Regions from separate parts of the Homo sapiens genome. Here regions 1 and 2 are each linked to region 3. The links are contacts of gene promoters, found by promoter capture Hi-C in blood cells and fetal thymus (Javierre and others, 2016). All regions are on one chromosome and are shown on one strand. Each heading gives the region's core, a stretch centred on a gene start or on the middle of the fragment in contact. The rest is flanking DNA. Distances are from core to core; before and after follow the strand shown.

The links. Contacts are between HindIII fragments. The CHiCAGO score rates a contact against its expected background, and 5 or more counts as called.
Region 1: a fragment that was not itself captured here is called in contact with the fragment with the promoter of SKA1 in region 3 in 3 of 17 cell types (naive CD8 T cells, monocytes and total CD8 T cells); the score reaches 6.9 in naive CD8 T cells.
Region 2: a contact is called between a fragment that was not itself captured here and the fragment with the promoter of SKA1 in region 3, in 15 of 17 cell types (naive CD4 T cells, non-activated CD4 T cells, total CD4 T cells and 12 more). The highest score is 14.0, in naive CD4 T cells.

What each region holds. Positions count from the first base shown.
Region 1 is chr18:49,808,600-49,812,310 of GRCh38, forward strand. The region is part of intron 1 of ACAA2 (acetyl-CoA acyltransferase 2); the gene reads right to left. Among named protein-coding and RNA genes, the nearest start is that of ACAA2, 3.1 kb to the right of the region's middle. The HindIII fragment of the contact is 1,501 bases long and covers 1,611-3,111 here.
Region 2 is chr18:49,500,967-49,505,034 of GRCh38, forward strand. The region is part of intron 2 of LINC02837 (long intergenic non-protein coding RNA 2837); the gene reads left to right. Among named protein-coding and RNA genes, the nearest start is that of LINC02837, 3.6 kb to the left of the region's middle. The HindIII fragment of the contact is 1,708 bases long and covers 1,636-3,343 here.
Region 3 is chr18:50,373,174-50,376,882 of GRCh38, forward strand. It overlaps SKA1 (spindle and kinetochore associated complex subunit 1), which reads left to right and starts at 1,873. Exons shown (of 7, transcript NM_145060.4): 1 at 1,873-2,021; 2 at 2,647-2,745. The coding sequence starts at 2,658. It overlaps LOC105372114 (a long non-coding RNA gene), which reads right to left and starts at 1,705. Exons shown (of 3, transcript XR_935466.3): 1 at 1,422-1,705. RefSeq lists a silencer at 366-660. The HindIII fragment of the contact is 8,258 bases long and covers 1-3,709 here.

The sequences.
Region 1 (3,711 bases), core at 1,111-3,610, 560 kb before region 3:
ACCTGAACCACAAAACCAGCAGGTTTTTATTAAGGATTTCAAAAGGGGAGCAGGTGTACGAACAGGGAGTAGGTCACAAAGATCATATGCTTCAAAGGGCAAAAAGGAGAACAAAGATCACATGCTTCTGAGGCCAATAAAGATCACAAGGCAAAGGACAAAGCAAAGATCACAAGGCAAAGGGCAAAATCAAAAACTCCTGATAAGGGCCTATGTTCAGCTGTGCACATATTGTCTTGATAAACATCTTAAACAACAGAAAACAGTGTTCAATAGCAGAGAACTGGTCTGACCTCAAATTTACCAAGAAGCGTTTTTTCCCCACCCTAATAAGCCTGAGGGTACTGCAGGAGACCAGGGGGTATTTCAGTCCTTATCTCAACCGCATAAGACAGACACTCCCAGAGCGGCCATTTATAGACCTCCCCCCAGGAATACAATTCTTTTCCTAGGGTCTTAACATTCCTTGCTAGGAAAAGAATTTAGTGATATCTCTCCTACTTGCATATCCGTTTATAGGCTCTCTGCAAGAAGAAAAATATGGCTCCTACTGCCCGACCCCGCAGGCAGTAAAGACCTTATGGTTATCTTCCCTTGTTCCCTAAAAATCGCTGTTATTCTGTTCAAGGTGCACTGATTTCATATTGCTCAAACACACGTTTTACAATCAATTTGTACAGTTAACACAATCATCACAGTGGACCTGAGGTGACGTACATCCTCAGCTTACGAAGATAACGGGATTAAGAGATTAAAGTAAGACAGGCGTTAAGAGTATTATTAGGGAAGTGATAAATGTCCATGAAATCTTCACAATTTATGTTCCTCTGCCACAGCTCTAGCCGGTCCCTCCATTCAGGGTCCCTGACTTCCCACAACAATGTCCTTCAACAGGTGAATGGATAAACAAACTGTGGTGCAGCCATACAATGGAATATTATTCAGCAATAAAAAGAAGTGAGCTATCAAGCCATAAAAGGAAGGAATCTTAAATGCATGTCGCTAAGTGAAAGAAGCCAGTCTGGAAAGGCCATATACTGTATGATTCCAACTACATGATATCTGGAAAAGGCAAAGCTATGGAGACAGTAAAAAGATCAGTGCTTGCCAGGGGTTCAGAGACAGGGATAAATAAGTGAATCACAGATGATGTTTAGGGTGGTGAAATTAATCTGCATGACACTATAATACTGACATCGGTCATTTGCACATTTGTCAAAACCCATAGAACTATACAATACAATGAATGAACTTGAATGCAAAATATGAACTTCAGTGAATAATAATATATCAATGTTAGCTCATCAATTGTAACAAATGTACCACACTAATGCAAAATGTTAATAATAGGGGAAACGGACCGGGCAAGGGAGCACATGGTAATACTCCGTACTTTCTGCTCAATTTTTTTGTAAAACCTAAATCTGCTCAAAAACAAAGTTTGTAAATTTTTTCTTTAAAGTCGGATAGTAAAAAAACACGGGCAGAACCTCAAGGACTAACAAGTTACAGTCATAGGAGAGGACAGAGAATGGATTTAAAAAAACATTTGCAGAAATAATAAAGAAGAAATTTCCAAATTTGATAAAAAACATAAATTTGTATATTAAAGCTTGGTAAACCTCAACTCTAATAAACACCACACGTAACACTCCACACCCCGTTCTCCTGCAGCTTGGCACATCATTGTCAAACTTTTGAAATCCAAAGATAACAAAAATATATAAAGCATCCAGAAATAAAAATGACATATTGCACACATGGAAATGACCCCTCACTTCTCAGAAACAATAGAGCCTAATTTCATTTGTCTCTCTACAAAGTTCCTTTTATGAACTTCTCCCCTATGTCTCATATTCTAAGAAAGCATTTGATAGGGCAGTGCTAGTAGTGAAATATGCAATATCTACAAAGGAAAGGGTGTGCATGGGAAAATAAAAACAAAAAAAAACCTCCCCTTTACCTATATTACTTCTTATTTGATGCTCCCAGACTGTAAAGGTTAGCTCAAGTAAGACCTTAACTGAACTAAAACAATTATTTTGAACAGAGAAAATGTTCTCAATCATATATTTTTGGTTTGGGTTTTTTTTGTTTGTTTGTTTGGAGGCAGGGTTTCACTCTGTCACCCAGGCTGAAGTGCGGTAGTGTGATCTTGGCTCACTGCAGCCTCAACCTCCTGGGCTCAAGCAATCCTCCACCACAGCCTCCCGAGTAGCTGGGACTACAGGCGAGTGCCACCATGCTTGGCTAATTTTTGTATTTTTTGTAGAGACTGGGTTTCTCTATTTTAAAAAATAATTTGTTATTATTATTTTAAATCTTCATTTTAACAAATAATCTGGGATGTGCAGATAGACTATAAAGGTTTAAAGTTTTTTTTTTTTAATTTCATAAATTGTATACCATGTCAATTTTCATTTGATGTCAATTTTACGTGGATACTAAAAGGTCTAAAACTTAACAATCTTTAACACCAAACTGAAATCTCATTTGAACACCCTGAAAATTCAGAGGCTAAAAATTTCCCAAAACTGAAAGACAGTGAAGAGACCTATTAACCCAGAGTGTAGTGAGTCCAAGTAGCTCCAAGAAAGGCCCTGGAAAGATGTGCTGAGTTGACAATACAGGAAAAGCACCACTAGGAAAGAAACAGGAGCACTACCTTTCTATCACATTGTTAGGTAAATATTCACTTAGAGCAACTTCAGGCAGCAACGAGGGCAAATTAAGGAAAGCTGCGGTGGCATCCAGTTGTTTCAAGATTAAGGTAATTTAGCAGCCCTGTCTACTTGCCTTGAAAAAATACACAAACATTCCCAACAAAGCTAGGAGCAGTAGGAGAGCTATGATCTGTCGAGCGAAAACCTCCTGCCAAGTACTGGGATGGGTGCTAATAAAAACCTAGGAGCCGGTTCTTCTTGTTGACTGAAATCTGACAAATTAATGTTAATCCTTAACAAAATTTAACTCAAATGTGTCCTTTTCCCTATAATCAGTCACATGCTCTTCTTTCTTCCCACCCATCCTGCAAACACTTGGTATGCTGCTTGAGAGAAGTTTATCTTTAATGATTCTAGCTGGCCTGTAACATCACTATTTCAAGCTCAAAGCTTGGGTTCTAGTCACAGCCACTAACTACCTGTGTTATTATACACAACCACTTTACCTCTCTCGACATGAGTGTCCTCCTAATTGCTACAATAAGGAAATGGAAAAAAATACGATCACTAGCTCTAACACTACAGTAAATTGTACCAGAAATTTATAAACTTTATACTTCCTTAATACAGGTGTCAATGTGCATTTTTTTCCTTTTTGGGTTTATAGTATTTGTGAAATTTTCAAACAGGTCTGTATTATAAGAAAGGGTAAGAACCACTGATAAAATATTAAAATGATATCAGTAAAAATATTATTTCCTTTTTTAGAAGATAGCTCATGACAATGCACCTTTTAAATGAAGTGTAAATGCCTCGTCTAAAAAAAATTCACCACGCTGCTTTATGAAGTAAATGTAGTAAATTCAGTCAGGAAGGGCACTGGCAAATGAAATCCACGTTGCAGGAAACTGTAAACACTGCATTTGGTCCCAGAATACGGATTTTTCCCTTGATTTGTTCCCATGCCACTTTGGTTCTTCTCACTTTCAGATCCCCCTAACCAATGCTTAGCTGGCATCTCCACTTGGCTGCTTCACAGGCACCAAAA
Region 2 (4,068 bases), core at 1,240-3,739, 870 kb before region 3:
AGACACTTTAATTCCTGAAGCTGCAAAGTTTGCTTTTTATTACTATAGCTCTACTTATTCTGCATAATTTTATTTATTATTTGTTTATGTATTTATTTTTTGAGACAGAGTCTCGCTGTGTTGCCCAGGCTGGAGTGCAGTGGCGCCATCTCAGCTCACTGCAACCTCTGCCTCCTGGGTTCAAGCAATTCTCCTTCCTCAGTCTCCTGAGCAGCTGGGACTACAGGCACGTGCTACCACGCCCAGCTAAGTTTTGTATTTTTAGTAGAGACGAGGTTTCATCATATTGGCCAGGCTGGTCTCGAACTCCTGACCTTGTGATCCACCTGCCTCAGCCTCCCAAAGTGCTGGGATTACAGGCGTGAGCCACCACGCCTGGCTTATTCTGCATAATTTTTAAGAGTTGTGAATTGTTTTAAGATCAAATTTAAAAGTACATTTTCTTTCTTATCTTGTCATTAACTGATGTTGGGTATGTGTGTGTGCTTGTGATTTCCCTGGCTGGACCAGTGTATAACTTCAAAGAGGGCTGGTGCCTTGCCTTTAGTCTGCTGGATAGCACTCCTCCAGACCCTCCCTTTGCTGAGCAGCTCCGTGGACCTGTGCAAATCTCTACCCAGCTTTGTTGGACAACAAAATACCCTGGAGAATATCAAGCCCTTTAACATACCCAGTTTGTGCTCCCAGACGTAAGATCTCTTTGGCCATGTATGTGGGATTCCCATGAAGGAGAAGCTTCATTTCCAGCAAGAATCTGGCTTCCACCTAGACTTGGGAAACAGATACTGAAAAGCATATTGCTGATCAACTAGACAACCTACTTCCACTCTTGATTGCCCCTGTAATCCATCTAGAACAGCCAGAGCAATTTATTTATTAAAAAATTTAAAATTGGCCAGGTGCGGTGGCTCACGCTTGTATCCCCAGCACTTTGGGAGGCCGGGGTGGCAGATCACTTGAGGCCAGGAGTTAAGATCAGCCCGGCCAACATGGTGAAACCCTGTCTTTACTAAAAATAGAAAAAGTTGCCAGGCAAGATGCCTTACGCCTGTAATCCCAGCACTTTGGGAGGCCAAGGCAGGTGGATCACGAGGTCAGGAGATGGAGATTATCTTGGCTAACACGGTGAAACCCCATCTCTCTCTACTAAAAATACAAAAAATTAGCCGGGCATGGTGGCACACGCCTGTAGTCCCAGCTACTTGGGAGGCTGAGGCAGGAGCATGGCTTGAACCTGGGAGGCGGAGGTTGCAGTGAGCCGAGATCGCACCACTGCACTCCAGTCTGGGTGACAGAGCGAGTCTCTGTCTCAAAAAAAAAAAAGAAAAAGAAAAAAGAAAAGAAAAGAAAAAATTAGCCGGGCATGGTGGTGCGTGCCTGTAATCCCAGGTACTCGGGAGGCTGAGGCAGGAGAATCTCTTGAACCCGGGAGGCAGATGTTGCAGTGAGCCAAGATCGCACCATTGCACTCCAGCCTGGGTGACAGAGTGACTCCATCTCAATAAATAAATAAATAATAAGTAAAATTTTAAAATTATTCAAAAATTTAAGATTATTTATATGTGTTTTATAGAAAGTCAGATATAGCAGGTAAGCAGATTAAGAAAATAAAATCCTTATATTTCCAAAAGATTAAGCTTTAATATATCCTTCTAGTATAGTGTGAGATATATACTTCATGTGTGTATGTATATACATATATACTTACCAGGTGAAATTATACTGTACATGCTATTTCATAATCAGATTTTTTTCCAGTTAATCTCAATTTTACCATGTTGATACATTTTCATCTCTTCTAATACCTAACCTCAATTTCAGTTATCCCAGTTGTTCCCCAAATGTCCTTTCCAGTTGGTTTGTTCAAAGCAAGACCCGCCAGGCACACTGACTCACACCTGTAATCCCAGCACTTTGGGAAGCTGAGGCAGGCAGATCACTTGAGGCCAGGAGTTCGAAACCAGCTTGGCCAACATGGTGAATCCCTGTCTCTACTAAAAATAGAAAAAATTAGCAGGGTGTGGTGGCACACACCTGTAGTCCCAGCTACTCTGGAGGCTGAGGCATGTGAATTGCTTGAAGCTGGGAGACAGAGGTTGCAGTGAGTTGAGATCATGTCACTACACTCCAGCCTGGGTGACAGAGCAAGGCTCTGTCTCAAACAAACAAACAAACAAACAAACCAACCAACCAAAGCAGCCACACACACACAAAAAAACCAGAAACAAAGCAAGACCCAATCTAGGTCCCACATGACATCTGGTTGTTGTTTCTTTTTATTTTATTTTTGAGACAGAGGCTTGCTGTCACCCAAGCTAGAGTGTATTGGCGCGATCTCGGCTCACTGCAACCTCTGCCTCCGGGGTTCAAGTGATTCTCCTGCCTCAGCCTCCTGAGTAGCTGGGATTACAGTCGCCCACCATCACGCCTGGCTAATTTTTGTATTTTTAGTACAGACTGGGTTTCACTATGTTGGCCAGGTTGGTCTTGAACTCCTGACCTCAGGTGATCTGCCCGTCTCGGCTTTCCAAAGTGTTGGGATTACAGGCATGAGCCACCGTGCCTGGCCAGGTTGTTCTCTTTCATAATCAGTTTTAGAATCAGAAAATTTAACATTTACTATAATAATATTATCTAACCTAGAGACCATATTTAATTGCCGCCAATTTTCCCAACAATATCTTTTATAGAATTTTTTTTGGACGAAGAGCCAAATTCAGAATAAGGCATTGTGTTTGGTTGCCATGTCTCTTTATTTTTCTTTAATCTGAATAGCTTGGCATTCTTTGTAAAAAGAGCTTTCTCTTATTAACTGGGGTGATTTGGTTGTCCTAAAATACAGTTTCTAGAACTATGATAACTATAACCAGAAAATGTAATCTTTAAAAAATATAAACTATATAATATAACACTCCCCACTTCTCTCCAAAGCACTTCCCAGGTTAAAACCCTTGAAAGACTTCACATTTCACACCCAATAAAGTCCAAACTGCTTACTGTGCTGTGCAGGCTGATCTAGCTCCAGGCCCTCATTTCCTATACTTTTCCTCTGCACTGACTTTGCTCCAGCCACATTGGCTCCTTGCTGCTTCAGGGATACAGTCAACTCATTCCTGTCTTGATGCCTTTGCTTTTGCCCTTCCTTCCAATGATTTACAACTAGGTCTTCACGTGTTGGCTTCTTCCAGTCACTGAAGCCTTAACTCCTTCCCTGACACTCAGTCTATGGAGCTCCTCTCTGACATAATCTTGTTTTATTGTCTTCACAACATATCTCACTGAATGAAATTATCACATTTATTAGTTTTCTTCTTAAATTTCTATCTCCTTTTCAAAAAATGTAAGCTTCATGAAGACATGGTTCTTTTTTTTTTTTTTTTTTTTTTCTGAGACAGAGCCTTGCTCTGTCGCCCAGGCTGGAGTATAGTGGCGTGATCTTGGCCCACTGCAACCTCCGACTCCCGGGTTTCGATGATTCTCCTGCCTCAGGTTCCCCAGTAGCTGGGATTACCGGCGCATGCCACCACGGCTAATTTTTGTATTTTTAGTAGAGAGGGGGTTTCGCCATTTTGGCCAGGCTGGTCTCGAACTCCTGAGCTCAGGTGATCCGCCCACCTCGACCTTCCAAAGTGCTGGGATTACAGGCATGAGCAACTGTGCCTGGCAGAAGACATAGTTCTTGTCTGTTTTTTTTTCCTCTAGTGCCTAGAATAATTTTTTTGTTTATGATAAGTTCTCAACAAATATTTCTTGAATTACAACATAATACTGGAAGTCCTAGCCAGAGCAATTAGGCAAAAGAAAGAAAAAAGGACATTCAATTTGAAAAGAAGGAAGTAAAATAGTCCCTGTTTACAGATGACATGATTTTATATATAGAAAAATCAGGCCGGACGCAGTGGCTCATGCCTGTAATCCCAGCACTTTGGGTGGTAGAGGATGGTGGATCACTTGAGGTCAGGAGTTTGAGACTAGACTGGTCAACATCGCGAAACCCTGTCTCTACTAAAAATACAAAAAAATTAGCTGGGCGTGGTGGTGCATGCCTGTAATCCCAGTTACTCAGGA
Region 3 (3,709 bases), core at 623-3,122:
ATGCAATGTAACTGTCAGGCCTCTGAGCCCAAGCTAAGTCATCATATCCCCTGTGACCTGCACGTATACATCCAGATGGCCTGAAGTAACTGAAGAATCTCAAAAGAAGTGAAAATGGCCTGTTCCTGCCTTAACTGATGACATTACCTTGTGAAATTCCTTCTCCTGGCTCATCCTGGCTCAAAAGCTCCCCCACTGAGCACCTGGTGACCCCCACCCCTGCCTGCCAGAGAACAACCCCCTTTGACTGTAATTTTCCTTTACCTACCCAAATCTTATAAAACGACCCCACCCCTATCTCCCTTAGCTGACTGTCTTTTCGGACTCAGCCCGCCTGCACTCAGGTGAAATAAACAGCCTTGTTGCTCACACAAAGGCCAGTTTGGTGGTCTCTTCATACGGACATGAGTGAAAGTAACTGTCCAGATTACATTTTTTACAAAAGATTTTTTTCAGTCTCCTTCGCAGATGGGAGTGACCAGTGAGAAGCAGATGGAAGCCACTGGGTGTGGCTTCCAGCACAACGCTCTCAAAGTGCTGGTTCTGTTGGCAGTTAAGCCTATTACACATGCCTCTTGCTCGTTTCTGCTGCCTGGGAGAAAGACCTGAGGACAGGGGCTGGCAGCCTGAAGGTCCAAGTGCATAATAATAGCGCAGTGGAGCCAAGGGATGGACAGAACCTGGCGGTGCCACCACTCCAGCCTTGGGTGCTTTTCCCTCCTTTTCAACAGGGAGAATTAAACTTTTGTTTTTCTTATTTTAAATTTATATTTGCTCTTAAGTGGCAGGCCAGGTCTCACTAACAGCTGAACAGACAGGCCTCCGTAACCACTGTTTCAGCACTAGTTAAGTTAAATATTAAAAGCTGAAAGAGCCAGTGTCTTTATAGAAAGGCTGGTATGTAACAAAAGCCCACCAAGAGTTTTGCCCAGGCCTTTCCTGGTCCTTGAAGCATGAGAAAATAAAGAAGGAATTCTTAACAGGACCTGTTCAAGATTAAACAAGTTTTTATTGGGGGTCTGAAGAAACTCCCCCAGACCTCCACAAACAAGTTTATCGGGGGTCTGAAGGAACTGCCCAAACCTTCATGATTTAGCAGGAGACAAGATAAGGGTAATCACCTCTGGCACCTGCAGCCATCTAGATTAAGTAAATTTACTTAAATAAAGACCTTCCTTAGGACTGATCTTAGTTATAGATTAGAAACAGTTAATCATTTACGTCTTTACACACATGCACACTTACATGTAGACAGATAGTTTAGAAGGTATATAAGCTCTGGAAAACTTTGTAATTTTGAATCGATTTGGCGATATTTTCCAGGCCTTTTCCCTGTACCCGGTTACCGAAATAAACTCTTCTTTCCCAGTTCATCATGAGAATAAGCAGCCCAACCCCTGGTTTGGCCCGGGAACACTTACAGAGGCTGTCTAAGACCCAGAAGACAGGGTCACTGTTTCTTCCACACAAACTTAGCTGCTCTTTGGAATTTTCTGGGGTGTTTTTATAAATACTAAGGCTTGTGCCTCATTTCCCCAGTGTCTGATTTCACCGACTTGGGGTGTACTCTAGGCACTGAGACTTGTAATAGCTGCCCCTGGTGACTCTAAGGTGCAGCAAATGTCAAAGACCAGGACTTGGTGACGCCAGGTCCCTGGCTGGGCTGCGGTCAAGACTGCATGACCTGCTGAAATCTCCCCAGACTGGTTAGCGCGGAAAGAGCACCTCCGGGTTACCCTTTCGTCCGGAAGCCCCGCCTTCGCCGTCGCCCCGCCTTTCCCCGGCTCGGCCACCCCTCCTTCCCGCCCAGCTGTGGCCCCGGATGACGCAAACCGGGAACAGCGGCTGAGCCTGCGCTTCGGAAGCATGGATGTGCGCCTGCGCTGCGCTAGGGCGCGGCGGGCGGTTTGAATTTTGCTTACAGAGTCCCGTCTCACCATCCTGGGCTTCCAACGGAGACTGCGGTATCCGCAGCTGGAGACCCAGCGGCGAGTAGCCTTTTGCTCCCGGACGGACTTGAGGTTGGAGTCTGTGTGTTGGGGACCCTGCCTTTGGAAGCGCCCGAGGTAGCTGCTTGGCAGCTGGGGGCCGCGGACCGCGCCGGGCTTGGGGGAGGACGGGGCTGGAGGCTGGGTTGGATGCTTTAGACCCTCCCCTTCTCTCTCACCGGCGGAGTGGGTGGGAAACTGGTTCTTTCCCATTTCTCGGCCTCCTTACCGATCCCAAACTGTAAAGCCCCAACCCCTCACAGCACAGGAAAAATGATTACCTGGGCCCATTTCTTTGACAGTGTAACACATTTTTAAAAAATGTGTCCTTATTTTGCGTGTTTAAAGAAAATACCAATGTTGTCTTTATATACAAATAGTGCGTTTGTCCTCCTGAATCCTTAAGGAAAGGACCCAGGCTTATCCTCTTTCCCCTGGTTTGGGATCCATCGATGGCCTAAGGCTCTAAGACAAGTCAGTACGGTACCGTGGTTAGAAACTGAATGTTGTAGAAATGAAAGAAATTGCTCTTGAATTTTTGTGCTTAACCTTCAAAGACATGTGATTTACTTGACATTGACCATTCTTGGATTTCGAAAGTGAACAGAAATTTGTGTGGCTTTTCTTGTTACGAATATGTTTATGTTTTTTTCTTCAGAGGCTTAAAGGATGGCCTCGTCAGATCTGGAACAATTATGCTCTCATGTTAATGAAAAGATTGGCAATATTAAGAAAACCTTATCATTAAGAAACTGTGGTAAGTAAAACAGATTCCACTGACTTTGTATATACAAAATGCATTTTGATTATTCCACTCTGAATGATATCTTTGCTTGGTTAAGTGACTGCATCTTAGGTAATTTTAGATTTTTGCATAACGATTTTTTAAATAGTCCAATGTCATTTTGAATATTGTGGAGGATACTAAAAATGTAAGGTACATTGAACAATGAACTGAATATTCATTAGAATTATTTACTTATGTTTTTCTGAGACACATAGGCCAATGGTGAGATTTGAAGGTTATGTGGCATCCATGGTTCTACAGCTAAATAGAGATACAGTCATGCGTTCCTTAATGATGGAGATGTGTTCTGACAAAAGCGTTACATGATTTTGTCGTTGTGCAAACATCACATCATAGAATGTACGTAAATGTACACAAACCTAGATGGTATAGCCTACTACATATCTAGGCTATATAGCCTATTGCTCCTAGGCAACAAACCCGTATAGCATGTGACTGTACTGAATACCTTAGGCAAGTGTAACACAATGGTGAGTATTTGTGTATCTAAACATAGAAAAGATACAGTAAAAGATTAAAAATGGAACACCTGTATAGGCCACTTACCATTGATGGAGCTTGCAGAACTGGAAGTTGCTGTGGGTGAGACAGTGACTGTGAGGGCCTAGGACATCACTGTATACTACTGTAGGCTTTATAAGTACTATACACTTATGCTACACTAAATTTATAAAAAATGAAAAACTTTCTTCAATAATACATTAACCTTAGCTTACTATAACTTTTTTACTTAATAAACTTCTTAGTTTGGCTTAGCTTTTTTATTCTTTTCTAATAGCTTAAAACAAATACATTGTACAGGTGTACAAAAATATTTTTATATCTTTATGAGCTTTTTTTCTATTTTTTTTTAACTTTTTAAAATTTTTTTGTCAAAAACGAATACACACACACACACACATTAGCCTAGGCC